Linked DNA regions of Homo sapiens: regions 1, 3 and 4 are each linked to region 2. Evidence: promoter capture Hi-C in 16 types of primary human blood cells and fetal thymus (Javierre and others, 2016). All regions are on one chromosome and are shown on one strand. Each heading gives the region's core, a stretch centred on a gene start or on the middle of the fragment in contact. The rest is flanking DNA. Distances are from core to core; before and after follow the strand shown.

What was found. The method cuts DNA at HindIII sites, captures the fragments that hold promoters and counts their contacts. A CHiCAGO score of 5 or more calls a contact.
Region 1: a contact is called between a fragment that was not itself captured here and the fragment with the promoter of DDX1 in region 2, in 1 of 17 cell types (M2 macrophages). The highest score is 5.3, in M2 macrophages.
Region 3: a contact is called between a fragment that was not itself captured here and the fragment with the promoter of DDX1 in region 2, in 1 of 17 cell types (M2 macrophages). The highest score is 8.7, in M2 macrophages.
Region 4: a contact is called between a fragment that was not itself captured here and the fragment with the promoter of DDX1 in region 2, in 1 of 17 cell types (M2 macrophages). The highest score is 5.7, in M2 macrophages.

What each region holds. Positions count from the first base shown.
Region 1 is chr2:16,476,037-16,479,178 of GRCh38, reverse strand. LOC105373444 (a long non-coding RNA gene) reads left to right here and starts at 830. Exons shown (of 3, transcript XR_939753.3): 1 at 830-910. The HindIII fragment of the contact is 1,038 bases long and covers 1,026-2,063 here.
Region 2 is chr2:15,590,160-15,593,309 of GRCh38, reverse strand. DDX1 (DEAD-box helicase 1) reads right to left here and starts at 1,442. Exons shown (of 26, transcript NM_004939.3): 1 at 1,361-1,442. The coding sequence starts at 1,376. LOC124905975 (a long non-coding RNA gene) reads left to right here and starts at 1,541. Exons shown (of 2, transcript XR_007086224.1): 1 at 1,541-1,850; 2 at 1,978-3,150. RefSeq lists an enhancer at 1,344-1,403. The HindIII fragment of the contact is 5,190 bases long and covers 1-2,814 here.
Region 3 is chr2:16,515,896-16,518,978 of GRCh38, reverse strand. No RefSeq gene overlaps it. Among named protein-coding and RNA genes, the nearest start is that of CYRIA, 150 kb to the left of the region's middle. The HindIII fragment of the contact is 3,095 bases long and covers 1-2,979 here.
Region 4 is chr2:16,496,116-16,499,085 of GRCh38, reverse strand. No RefSeq gene overlaps it. Among named protein-coding and RNA genes, the nearest start is that of CYRIA, 170 kb to the left of the region's middle. RefSeq lists an enhancer at 2,820-2,970. The HindIII fragment of the contact is 1,249 bases long and covers 679-1,927 here.

The sequences.
Region 1 (3,142 bases), core at 295-2,794, 890 kb before region 2:
GTGGAACACTTGGTGATAGTCCCAGAGTATGATATTTTACCATAGTTCCAGAACTACAGGAGATACTCAGTGCATATACACACTTCTTACCACAAATTGAGCCAGATACTAGGATCATGAGAGGGAGATGAGGGGACTCAGCTATGACTGAGTCATAGTCTAAGGTGTTGGGATATTAGTCAAGACTAAAAAGGACCACAATGCATGAGTCATGAGAGAAATGCAACCCAAGCACTCTAAGGGGAGACCATACTCCACAGGCTTTGATGGCTAGAAATGACCTGACTTGAAATATAACTTTTACAAAGAAGAGTGTGAAAAATCATGTTTAGCAGTTCTTACACCTTGCCCAATGCCCAGTATAGAGCAGAAACACAATACAAAAGGTTTGTCAAACTGCTGACCAGCATGTAGAGCTCTACTGGGTTTGGCAGGACTATAGACATTAAGGGCTAGGATTAGTATTTCATTCTGTAGTCAATGGATACTCACTGGAAAGTGTTTGAGGAAGTGAGGGGTGTGAGCTTTGTTTTAAGATAAGATGTTTATGTCTGTGTCATAACAAGCAGAAGGGATTGGAGGAAACAGGCTGAAGACAGATGCTGCAGTGGGAGTGTGGAGAGATGTGAAGGCAACAGCAGGAATAATGATAAGATTGGTTGTGAGGTACTGTATAGATGAGATGGATAGGACCAGAGATGCACCTGAGAGCAGGAGGAAAAGGAGAGGAAAATGGTCATGTGGGTGCCAGATAGTACTGCATAACCTCTCCTTTTGAATTTGAGGTACCTGCGTCTGCCAAGAGTAGCTTTTCCATTTCACAACCATCACACTTTCCTGTGAGTTCAGAGTTAATGAAGACATGTGGATGCAAAAGGAAAACTTGCAGAGCAAAGTCATTGCCAAACAGGTGAGTTTCCTCAGGAAATTATGAAGGGGTCTCTTTCAATTTCCACTCCCACCCATCTTTCACTGGGTTCCTGTCACAGGCTGCAAGAGCTTTGGCAGAGGGATCTCACAAAGCTTTGATCCTTTTATGAGGCAGCTCGTCGGGACTTGCGCTTGCGGCACCCGCCTCCTCCTTTCCCGGGCCCCTAGCTCCCATTCCCAGCTACTCTAACTACGCTTTAGGAATCCATCACATACCATGTATGTGTAACTTCTGGCCCAGGTGGTCCTCCATGGTACAAACAAACCTGGAATCTCCCTGAATAAAGTCAACCTTCAGCTTTGCAAATATACAGGGGATATTTTTGCTTGCCTATCTGGAATCTCCTTCTCCCTTCATTCCTGACTTTTATTTTGATATCCACCCATTCCCCATCCACTTCTGTGCTTTAAGATAGCTGACCTTACTCAGTTCCCAGAGTGGGTGTGATTGGTTCAAGTAATTCCCCTGATGGACTCAGAAATTGTAAGGCTACATCTTGATCCAGTGAGACCTGAAACATACTTCCTGATGTTTCTGCAAAAGAAATTTCTTCACTCTAGAAAGCCACCAGAAGAGATGCTGTTTCTCTCTCTCTGGACAAGGTTTTGATCAGAGTCCCAGAACTGTTGCAGCCATCTTGTAAAGGTTGAAACTATTGCACAGGGAAGGACTGAGAGAAAAATGTAAAATCCCCTTCAAAATTTAAGTCAGTTTGAATTGACCTGAAGATGTTTTTTAATAAGTACCATCTTGAAAAATCAAACACATACTTTTGTTGTCAAAATAATTGGGGGTGGGGGATGTTACTGACATTTAATATATGGAGACCAAGAAGCGAGATGGAATTTGTGGGATAAGTCTGCATTACAAAGAATCTTCCCTCATATTGCACAATTTTTTAATGACCCATTAGACTTCCAGGTAGGTGAAAAACTCCTTTATTATCTGAGCCTAGAGCCTAACTCCATTTTGCACATACATTAAGTGTTTTTACTTTGTATCCCTTTTGATACACACTGAATTTTCCACTGTTTAAATCAGGGGAAGATTGTGCTTTTGTTTGAAACACTTTCAAGATTTGTTCACCTTTTCAGATGATCAGGTTACCAATGATAATGCCACTTATGAAGCTTGAGTTGCCAAGAAAATATGTTTCTATTAGTCTGCTTTTATTACCACATGGTGATTCTATCTCACAGTCGAAACTCTTGATGACTCAATCATGTGTTCTAGTGCAATTATGAGACAACATTTATATATTAATACATGCACGTCTTTCTATTATATATTACTGTCCTTTCATTTCTCCACTATACTACTTTTAGGGCATGATATATTTTTAATTATATGATGGATGGGTTAAATTATCTATGAGCTCAATCACAGAGTAGTAAAGGAGATATTACAAACTAATTAAAATTAAAAGGTGGTGTGTGTCTGCTGGGAGGAGGATGAGAGGACAGTCATCCTCCTAAAGAATCCTAACTGATATAAAATTAGGCCTCAAGAAGTGGGAATTTTTAAAAGAAAAGGCCCTCTAATGGAGAGTTGGCTCAATGGTTAGAGTGGGTGAAAAAGAATGCTAAGACTCCTCTAGGTCAGGCTGGGATGTTAGAGGTGCCCGGTTTTGCATCTGAAAACCTTTAGTGGTATCAACCTTATACTTACTTTGGAATGATGATCATGTACCTGTAAAGCAGTAGACTTAGAGGAGGTGGTTTAAAAATTCAGAGAAGTATTGGCTGTCTTGCAGCATTCTGTCAGGCCTTAGAGGAAAGAGAAAAGTCTTCAACCAATTAGTGTGTAAGCAGAGTGAGAAGGGAGGCCTTTACTAAGGGAGGCTTTCTCCCACTGTGGATTATAAAGCCTGGAAATACGTAGTCAGCAGAATTGGAATAAGCAAACACTATCCCAGCTAAAGTATGCAGAGAAAGAAGCAGAAAAATGAGATATATGAAGATAAAATGTGGGTCCAAACAAGCATGATCCCCTGAACTTCCCCTATTGGACATTCTCAGTCTGACAGGGAGACACCCATACTCATGGTGAAGAGGTAGCTGTGATGCAAGCAGTGACAAGGACCCAGTATCAGGACCTTCCCAGCCCCATGTGAAGCTATTGTCTCACCTTGCCCAGATGCACATAACTTGTGGAGTCCAGATCTAGGAGAAGCAGGGCTAAAAAGAGCTAGATGTTGCTTTTTTGTCTAAG
Region 2 (3,150 bases), core at 193-2,692:
GGCTCTAAAATCGTTTTAGGAGAATGTTGGGAAAAGAAAAACAGCAACAACTCTGAGCAGTTTCCAATTGAATCCTATTAGAAGATGTAACTGAAACAGTCAGAAATCTTACATGACTGTTGCACTTTGGGAAGCCGAGGTGAGCGGATCACCTGAGGTCAGGAGTTCGAGACCAGCCTGGCCAACATGGTGAAACCCCCGTCTCTACTAATAATACAAAAATGAGCAGGGCATGGTGGTAGGCGCCTGTAATCCCAGCTACTCAGGAGGCTGAGGCAGGAGAATTGCTTGAACCTGGGAGGTGGAGGCTGCAGTGAGCCAAGATCACACCATTGCACTCCAGCTGGGGCGACAGAAGGAGACTACATCCCCCCACCCCCCCATTCTCCCCCCCAAAAAAGAAAAAAAATATCTTACATGACTGGAGATATGGAATTCCTAATATTCTTACAGAAGAAAACTAAAAAATATAAAATACTACATCTGAAGTCATCTTAAAAAGTTAATAACATTAAAGGACATTAGGCCTAACGTGATACATTTATATAGCAATAAACGTTACATAAGTGCTACATAAATGTATCACGTTTAGCGCATTTAAGGCTGATTACAGCTTCCTAAAACTGGATGCCTAACAGGAGGATGATAAAGCAAGAGGCGAAAATATCAACTGTAGGGTTCGATAAGCCATATCAAATCATATTTGGAATAAAGGAGGGTAGCAGACGGCAAATAAATATGAATTTTCCAAACTTATGTTGGACTGGTGCGTACGTTAATGAAAATGCTTTCCCTTTAGCTTCAACACTGAACATTAATGTTGATATAACAACGTTTAAGAACAAATAAAGATCAGGTTTATGCCTGGGACGTTTTGGAAGGGCCTGAAAAAACTGGACAGAGGCAGGATCGTCATTTTTCCCCAATGACTCCTCCCCACGCCGTCTCGCCTCTCTGCCTGGCCAAGCCCAGATGAGCCGCGGGCAGAAAAGGGTTCCCAAAGGGTCACTGCCACGTTAAGAGGCAGGAGGCCCAGGCGTCTGGGAGCCGCCAGAGCAACGCCGCCGCCTAGATTTTGCAGCCGAAGGTGCACTGGCAGGAAAGCCAAGTGGAGACTGGTAGAAGGGAAAGGGCAGGGGGAGGGACGTTCCGGCCCGCTCCTGGGAAGAATCGTCCTCCGAACCCGAGCCGCGGCCGCCCCTGATCCCGCAACGCGGGTCCATCAGGGACTGCAGCGGACAGCGCCCTTCTGTCTCCCTGACCCCTGTCCGCTCCCGCCCCTTTAGCTCTCCGCGGGCGGCCCCAGGGCTGAGGCGTGCAACAAGCCGCCCCACCACCCCCAGAGTTTCCACAAACGCACCGGAGAAGGCCGCCATCTTCACCCCGTCCTCCGCGGCTTCGCCTGCTCGCTCCCTCCCTCCCGACTGACACGGCGTGGCAGTGGCGGCGCGCGCTTCCGGCCCCTGGTCTTCGGCGTTCGGAGTCCGGGCAGGGACTCAGCCCCGGGAGAACGGTTCCGATGGAAGGAAAGGCCCGCGCCGGCCCCGCCTTATGCGCCTGCCGCTGAGCGGACCTCTGGGACCTAGGGCTTCTGGACGCCGCCTTCGTTCTGGGCACCATGTGTTCGGAGCACACCACGCGGTATCAGGGTCACAGCTACAGAGAAGGAAGCAGATGTTTGGTGATTAGGGTCATCCAGTGGGCTCAGGCTGACACCACACCGTGCCCTCCCCACTCAGTCCCCCAGCTTTCCAAAGGTGAGCAGGGCCTTGGTGTGTGAATGACCCGGAGAGATGGACTGGATTCATTGCCCTGAGCACCAATGCCAGTGAGTGCCTGGCAGCCAGTAGGTATTTGTTACATTTTTTTTTTAAACTAAGTAATGATTTAGGTCTCCCTCCCTTCACCCATGTTTGATGTCGCTTTTATAATTTCGGGTTTGACTTCCATGCAATTTTAACTCCTTTCTCTTTGCAGAGAGATGGGGAAAGTAAATGAGGAATCCTCCCAACCAGACACTCACTCTGTCAGGAAGGTATTAGAATCTTTAGATGAGGACTCTAAAATTCGGGAAAGTTAAGTCACTTATCTAAAGACACATATCTACCGAATGGCAGCGTGGGATCTGAGCCACATCTGCGCAATGCGAGGGCGCGTGCTGTGCTATCTGTAGCCTGCCCCAGAGTGTCATGGAGAAAAGTGGAACCCTCAGGCAAGATAGAATAGGGTTGCAGCGGCCGGGCGCGGGGGCTCACGCCTGTAATCCCAGCACTTTGGGAGGCCGAGGCAGGCGGATCACGAAGTCAGGAGGTCGAGACCATCCTAGCTAACACGGTGAAACCCCTTCTCTACAAAAAATACACACACACACACACACACACACACACACAGAAGAAGCCGGGTGTGGTGGTGCATGCCTGTAGTCCCAGCTACTCGGGAGGCTGAGGCAGGAGAATCGCTTGAACCCAGGAGGCGAAGGTTGCAGTGAGCCGAGATCGCGCCACTGCACTCCAGCCTGGGTGACCGAGCGAGACTCCGTCTCAAAAAAAAAAAAAAAGAAAAAAGAATAGGGTTGCAGCTACTCCGGAGGCTGAGGCATGAGAATCACATGAACCTGGGAGGCGAAAGCTGCAGTGAGCTGAGATCGTGCCACTACACTCTAGCCTGGGCGACAGAGGGAGAGTCTGTCTCAAAAAAATAAAAAATAAAAAAGATAGAATAGGGTTAGAAGTACAGAGTTGGGAACCATATTCTGAGTTTGGATTCTAGGTCTGCCACTTGCTTGCTGTGTGACCTTGAACAAGTCATGAAGCTTCTTTGGGCTTCAGTTTACTTACCTGTGAAATAGGGATGAACAATAGTACCTTTCTCATATGATAGTTATGAGGATCAAATAAAATACATAAAGCATCTAAAATAGTGCATAGCACATGGTGACAATATAACTAGCTCTGTTATTACTATTACATGTAACAGGATTCACCTGAAGCTCCAAAGGCCCAGGACAATACACTCAGCCCTGCAGCTTTACACTTCCAGGGGGCACTATTCACATTATATTCTCTATTCTTGTTATATTTTGTCTAAATAAGACCCTGAGAGTTATGCAGTGTACCAGTTTTGAATGGATACCAAGTACCCCCACATTCC
Region 3 (3,083 bases), core at 183-2,682, 930 kb before region 2:
AAGCTGATTTTTTTTTTACTTACATGCACATATTCTCATTGGAGGATAAGTATAGCATTGCCCCAATATCATGGACCTCAAATTCTTTTTACTGTCCACCCTAGCTTTGGATAGCCCAAGATTTTTGCCCCCACCCTGGAGACTAATCAACTGAGCTTTAGATTCTGTCCCATTGCCTTACTAGACTACAACTTCTCAAGCTCCAGCTCCCTAGCTGCCTATGACTGGCTATTGGGAACCCCTCTGTGAGACAACCCCTGGATCTAGAGCCTTCACCTGGCACTTTTTGCCTTGGGTAGAATTACCTGTGACCTTGCAACTCATTCCTCTAGCTTTCAAGTTCTTCTACGGTGAGAATCATTAATCTCTGTATCCCCTGCCACCAACACAGGCTCTAGTAAAATGTTGGTGTAAACAAATGTTTCTTGAATTTAAAGTAACTGAACCTTAACCCAAGGATAAAAAGTGAAAACTGCAACAGTCACCAGATGGTCTGCATTCTTCTGGCAAACACTGCCATGTGAAGAACACCCAAATATGTAAGCTGGCTTTTGCGTATTTCATCCAGATGTTCGGCTTCAGGTAGAAGCAGACGAGGAAATCCTTAATGAACAGACTAGTGTTTCTTAACATGTCTAACTTCCAGACCTCCCTGTTGTCTCCTGTACTAAGGCTGCAGCTCACTCAACATTCTTAAATGGGCTGCAAAATAAAGTGCCTTGGGTTAGAACTGCAAGCAACAAGTGAAGTGGAGGGAGAGCAGAGGTACCTCCAAAGCCCTGCGGCAGGAGTACTCCAACTGTAGTGTTGGAACAAGGAGGCTGTGTGGCTGGAATAAGATGGGCAGAGAGCAGGAAACTGGAGAGCTAGGAGTGGGGTCTGGGCCATGGCAGAGCCAGCAGTGCCTTACTGGATTGGGACTCTGAGTTCCCTGAGTGAAATGGTAAGTCACTGTAGAGTTTTGAACAGAGGAATGACATAGTATAAATTACCTTTTCAAAAGAACATGCTGACTTATTTGAGACTAGCCTGTGAGGTGGGGCAGGGGAAAAGAAGGAAAATGGGGAGAGCCCTTAGGAAGCTACCACAGTCATCCAGGTAAGAAATGATGGCAACTTGGACTGGGGAGATCATGGCAGGAGTAGTGAGGAATGGCTGAATTCTGGATGAATTTTGCCTTCTATTTCCCAATTGTCTGTGCTCTGCCTCCAGACAAATGCCCATCCAAGAATGCTGCTCTATACTAGAAACCACACAGTACACCAACAATGTGCTTTTATTTTCAATAAGTGAACAAACAAACAGATGCACCAGATCCAGAATGATCTAGATGCTGGTTCTCAGAGACACACTCCCAGATATCTCACTTTGGCTTTACCCTGCCTCTTTGAAGGCCCAGAAGCTGAAGGAACAGAAACTGTGAATTATGCCTCCAACTGTGATGTGGGACAAGAAGAGCTGTTTCCAGAAAAAAATATAGACATATAAAGAGAACTGGTTGAATTTATTTTCTGATGCTTTTCTCACTTTGTGCCAGAAACATAAGCAGAGGGAATAAAACTGGGAATTTTGATCCCCTGAATGTAATTTAACAGAGAAGTCAATACCTGTAGGGAATGCAGGTGACAATGAGGGACAAAGAAGGCTGGCTGATTGGGACAGAAACCACCAGAGGGAGGAACACTATTGGGAGGAAATGACCAGATTCAGGTCCTCACAGTTAAGTAGGATGAAGGGTCTGGTCTCAGAAAGACCACTCAGATGAGCTTGCACATCCTGGGCTCCTCAGAGTGGTCCTCTCGGCTTCCCACACTCTGATGCAACATCAAGCACTGTCTCCTCACTCAGCCAACTTCCAGTGCGCAGAGGCAATTTATTGTGTGCAGGGCACAAGTGGTTCCATCTACATTCTGATCCAAACCGTGCAGCACTCCGGTGAGGCAGGAGATATCTTCATCTTACAAAGAAAATAGAGGCCCCAAGTTTGGAAGCGACATACGAAGAATTGCTTGGCAAGTTAAAGAGACCCAGTCTGTGAGTCACGTTTGAACCTCCTCTCTTCAAAACTATCTGGGCTTCCCAGCAGGGCCAGCATACCTCATCTCTGTGAGCAGTATGAGGGAACTTGGATGGGCTGGGGTGAGCAGCATGTCATGGGTAGGTCCAAGCACTGAGTCTCTTAGCCATGGGAGTAGCAGTGCCTAACAATCATTGCTCCAGACAGTCCCATATCAAGAAGCTGGAGTGCTTGTCCTCTTGCTTCCGTTTTTGGAGAATATGAGCTAGATCCATTTAAATGAGCCATTTTGATGACTGTAAAACTCCTTCTAGAACAATAGCACCTAACCTTGGCTGCACATCAGAATCACCTGGGCAGTTTGAACAAATACTGATACCCCTTTTATCCTGAGTTTTTCATTTAATTTATCCAGGGCATTCTAGTGGAGAGTTAAGGTGAAAAAACAGTACTTTAGAAAGTCTTCTTTCAGTGTCTATACACATGTTGTCTATGCAAGAATTAGGACAACTAAAATATTTAATTATACATGTATTCAGTAATATGTAAGCTATTATAAATACTATTGCAATTTTAACATCCAAAAATATAACATTTTCCCCCGCTGTTTTGGATTCTCTTGGTAGCATAAATTTCAAAGAACAGAATTAGCTTATTGAACTAGCAGAATTAGCTGATTGAAACGTAAGAACAATTTTAAAGTTCCTGATGCAAATTGACAAATGGTCCTCCAAAAATCGTACACCAATTTGTGTTCCCTTAATTTTTTAAAAAATAGGAATGCTCATGTCCAGCTTCCCCATCACCACAGCTTTTCAGTCATGGAATGGGCTTTCTTAGGGGGTAGGGAGCTTCTCATTATTGGGGATGTTCATGTGTATCTAAAGGGCGATTTGCTGAATGTGAACTGTATGCAGCCACTCCCTGAGTTTGGGTGGGAAATGCAGGACACACAGAAAGCTTGGCTGCAAGATCCCGCCCCTGGTCCTGGCTATTTACTACTTCAGGGAGAGCCTGAATCCACAAGGCTGTTTTCAGGCGATTGATGGGCAGGTCTAGGGTGGGA
Region 4 (2,970 bases), core at 54-2,553, 910 kb before region 2:
AGAAAGTCTAGTGTATTCTTGATGCTGGCGAGGTTGTGGAGAAAAAAAGAATGCTTATACACTGTTGTTGGGAGTGTAAATTAGTTCAACCATTGTGGAAGACAATGTGGTGATTCCTCAAAGACCTAAAGACAGAAATATCATTTGACCCAGCAACCTCATGATTGGGTATATACCCAAAGGAATATAAATCATTCTATTATAAAGACACATGCACACATATGTTCATTGTAGCACTACCACAATAGCTAAGACATGGAATCAACCTAAATGCTCATCAATAACAAACTGGATAAAGAAAATGTGGTAATATATACCATGGAATACTATGCATGCATGAAAAAGAACAAGATCATGTCCTTTGCAGGGACATAGACAGAACTGGAGGCCATTATCCTTAGAAAACTAATGCAAGAACAGAAAACCAAATACCACCTATTCTTGCTTATAAGTGACAGTTAAAAATGATGAGAACGCATGGACACATAGAAGGGAACAACACACAATGGGGCCTATTGGAGGGTGGACGGTGGGAGGAGGGAGAGATCAGGGAAAATGACTAATGGGTACTAGGCTTAATACCTGGGTAATGAAATAATCTGTACAACAAACCTCCATGACACAAATTTACCTATATAACAAACCTGCACATATATCCCTGAACTTAAAGTAAAAGCTTAAATAAAAGAAAGTCTAGTATATTCTTTCTCCGCTTCTGTGTCCTTGGACCTAGAAGAAATTAATGCATTCTGAATTTGTATCCCACTGGTTTTCCCCTTTGTCAGCAAGTCTTCATGAGTTTTCTGAAGGCCGCCTTTCATCTCCTGTGTCTACCCTTATGCAGTGGCAGAAGACAAAGGTAAGGAAAAGACTGTGATGGTCTCAGGAACAAGGAGTGAGGGTGGCGAGGTGGTGGACAAGAGCATCACAGAACCTTTCCAAGAATCACCTCCATTTGCTCCTCCAGATCAGCTCTTTACCCTTCTCGTCCCTGCTCTGTGCCCTGGGTAGTGATCTGGATGGACTCCACTATTTGACCCCCTTGCCATCAGGTTCCAGTTGGGTTTGTCAGGATATTAATGAGCAGCTTCACGCCCACCACCCCCACCCCCACCACCTCTGGGCTGCAGGTTTAACAATGCCTGAGTTCCTCTACTCTTGGCCTGGGCCCTCTCCTATCACCACAGTGCTCAGATTGCAGGGGTAACCACTCCTCTTCTTAGGCTTTCAGGCCTACAGATAGTATCAACTTTCCAATCTTGATGGTCCTTGGATGCTCCATCTTTCCTTCCTGAAACTCTTTACTCTTCTTGTACTTATGTGATTATTGCCTTTAAAGCCTGCTGGTATAAAGCAAGCTATAAATAAAATATTTAATGGAACAGATTATGTGCAAATACAGAGGAGAAAGGGCATGTACAAGATAATGATAATCCTGGACTTGGAGTCAGGGTATTGAGATCTGGGTTCTATCTCAGCTCCATCACTAGTGCTATATCACTTTGCTTCTCTAACACATAGTTTCTCAGTCTGTGAAATAAATTAGTTGAACCTTTCTGAGATGAAATATTCAAAGCAAGATCCTACCGAGGAAGACCAGAGCCTGTTAATCTGTGCAATGCAGTCTGTACACACTGCTGCCTGAGTCTCAGGTTGTGGTTGGTTGATGGGACAAAGAGATGTTGATGGATTCCATGCAACCAGGCTACTTGTGACTTGATCATCTAGTGGAAACTAGACTAGATAATTGCCCTACTTACCTGTCAGCTCATTTGTTTCTCTCTCTTGACTTCCACATCTAGATCCAAGTACTTCTGCCTAACTGTCAATAGTCCCCAAATCCAACATATTATGCAATATGTTATCCTACTTGCTACTCTGCTGAACTGCTGATCTCACTTACTCTTGCCAGTCTCACCTCAAAGCTTTTGCTTGAGTGGCCCCCAGCAGGTGGAGAATCTTCTCTTCCCTTACCTTTACTAATCTCGATCTTCCCAGTCTGCAAGAGTTCACCCAAGTACCACCTCTTGTAGAAAGCCTCCCTCCCCTGTCTCTTTTAGCCTAGCTTGATCTCTCCTCCCTCTGCTAATGGACAGTCACTCACTGATCTGTGCCAGTCCATTGGGTGCTAACTTGTACTCTGACCATTTTTGCTGTGCCAGCTTTGCCTCTTCACTTCCTTGAAAGTCCAGCCTTTCATTTGTCACAGTACATGTTGCACAATGCTGGGCGTATGATAGCATTTAATCAAATCTTGTCAGTTTATAATTTGAGGTAATGTCTCATTCATCTGGCACCTTGGGCTTTTCCAGATAACTGAAGTTGAGCTTGTCAAACACCAAACAAGTATAGTAAGCTCTTTTTAATAGACATCTTTCTGAAATGTATTTGACATTTCCAGAAATTCTGAATTCCCATCTGCCATACATAACTACGTAATTTCAAAACCACTCAGAGATGTCATTCTAAACACCCATTAGCATCCTGAGCAGTAATGCAGATCTGTATCTGGTTTTAGGTCCTTTGTCTCCTCCCTCGGTATCTTGCAATGCCAACTGTGATTTTCTTAGGACTCACATAACTGTCTCTCCTGAATGTCTTCTTCAACCATTCTTTTCCTAATTACTGTGTTTCTTTTACTAAGGTCCAGGAAACCAAATCACTAGAAGTCTCCAGAAAACACTCCCTGCACACCAATTTGATGCCAGGGAATAGTATAAATAAAGCATGACACAGGCATCAACAAGCTTAAACTCTCAACAGGCATAGCCACAATACAGAATGGCAAAGGCCATATGGAAGGTACAACCTAGAAGACAGAGCCACAAACTGTAGGCAGTAGGAAGATGTAGTTGCAGCTCAGGGAGCAAGGAAATTTGAGATAAACTCTGAGAATATGCAGGAGTTCACCTGGAAGAACAAACAGGAATAAAATTTCCAGCGGAAGAAACAGCATTCTTGAGTAATTGT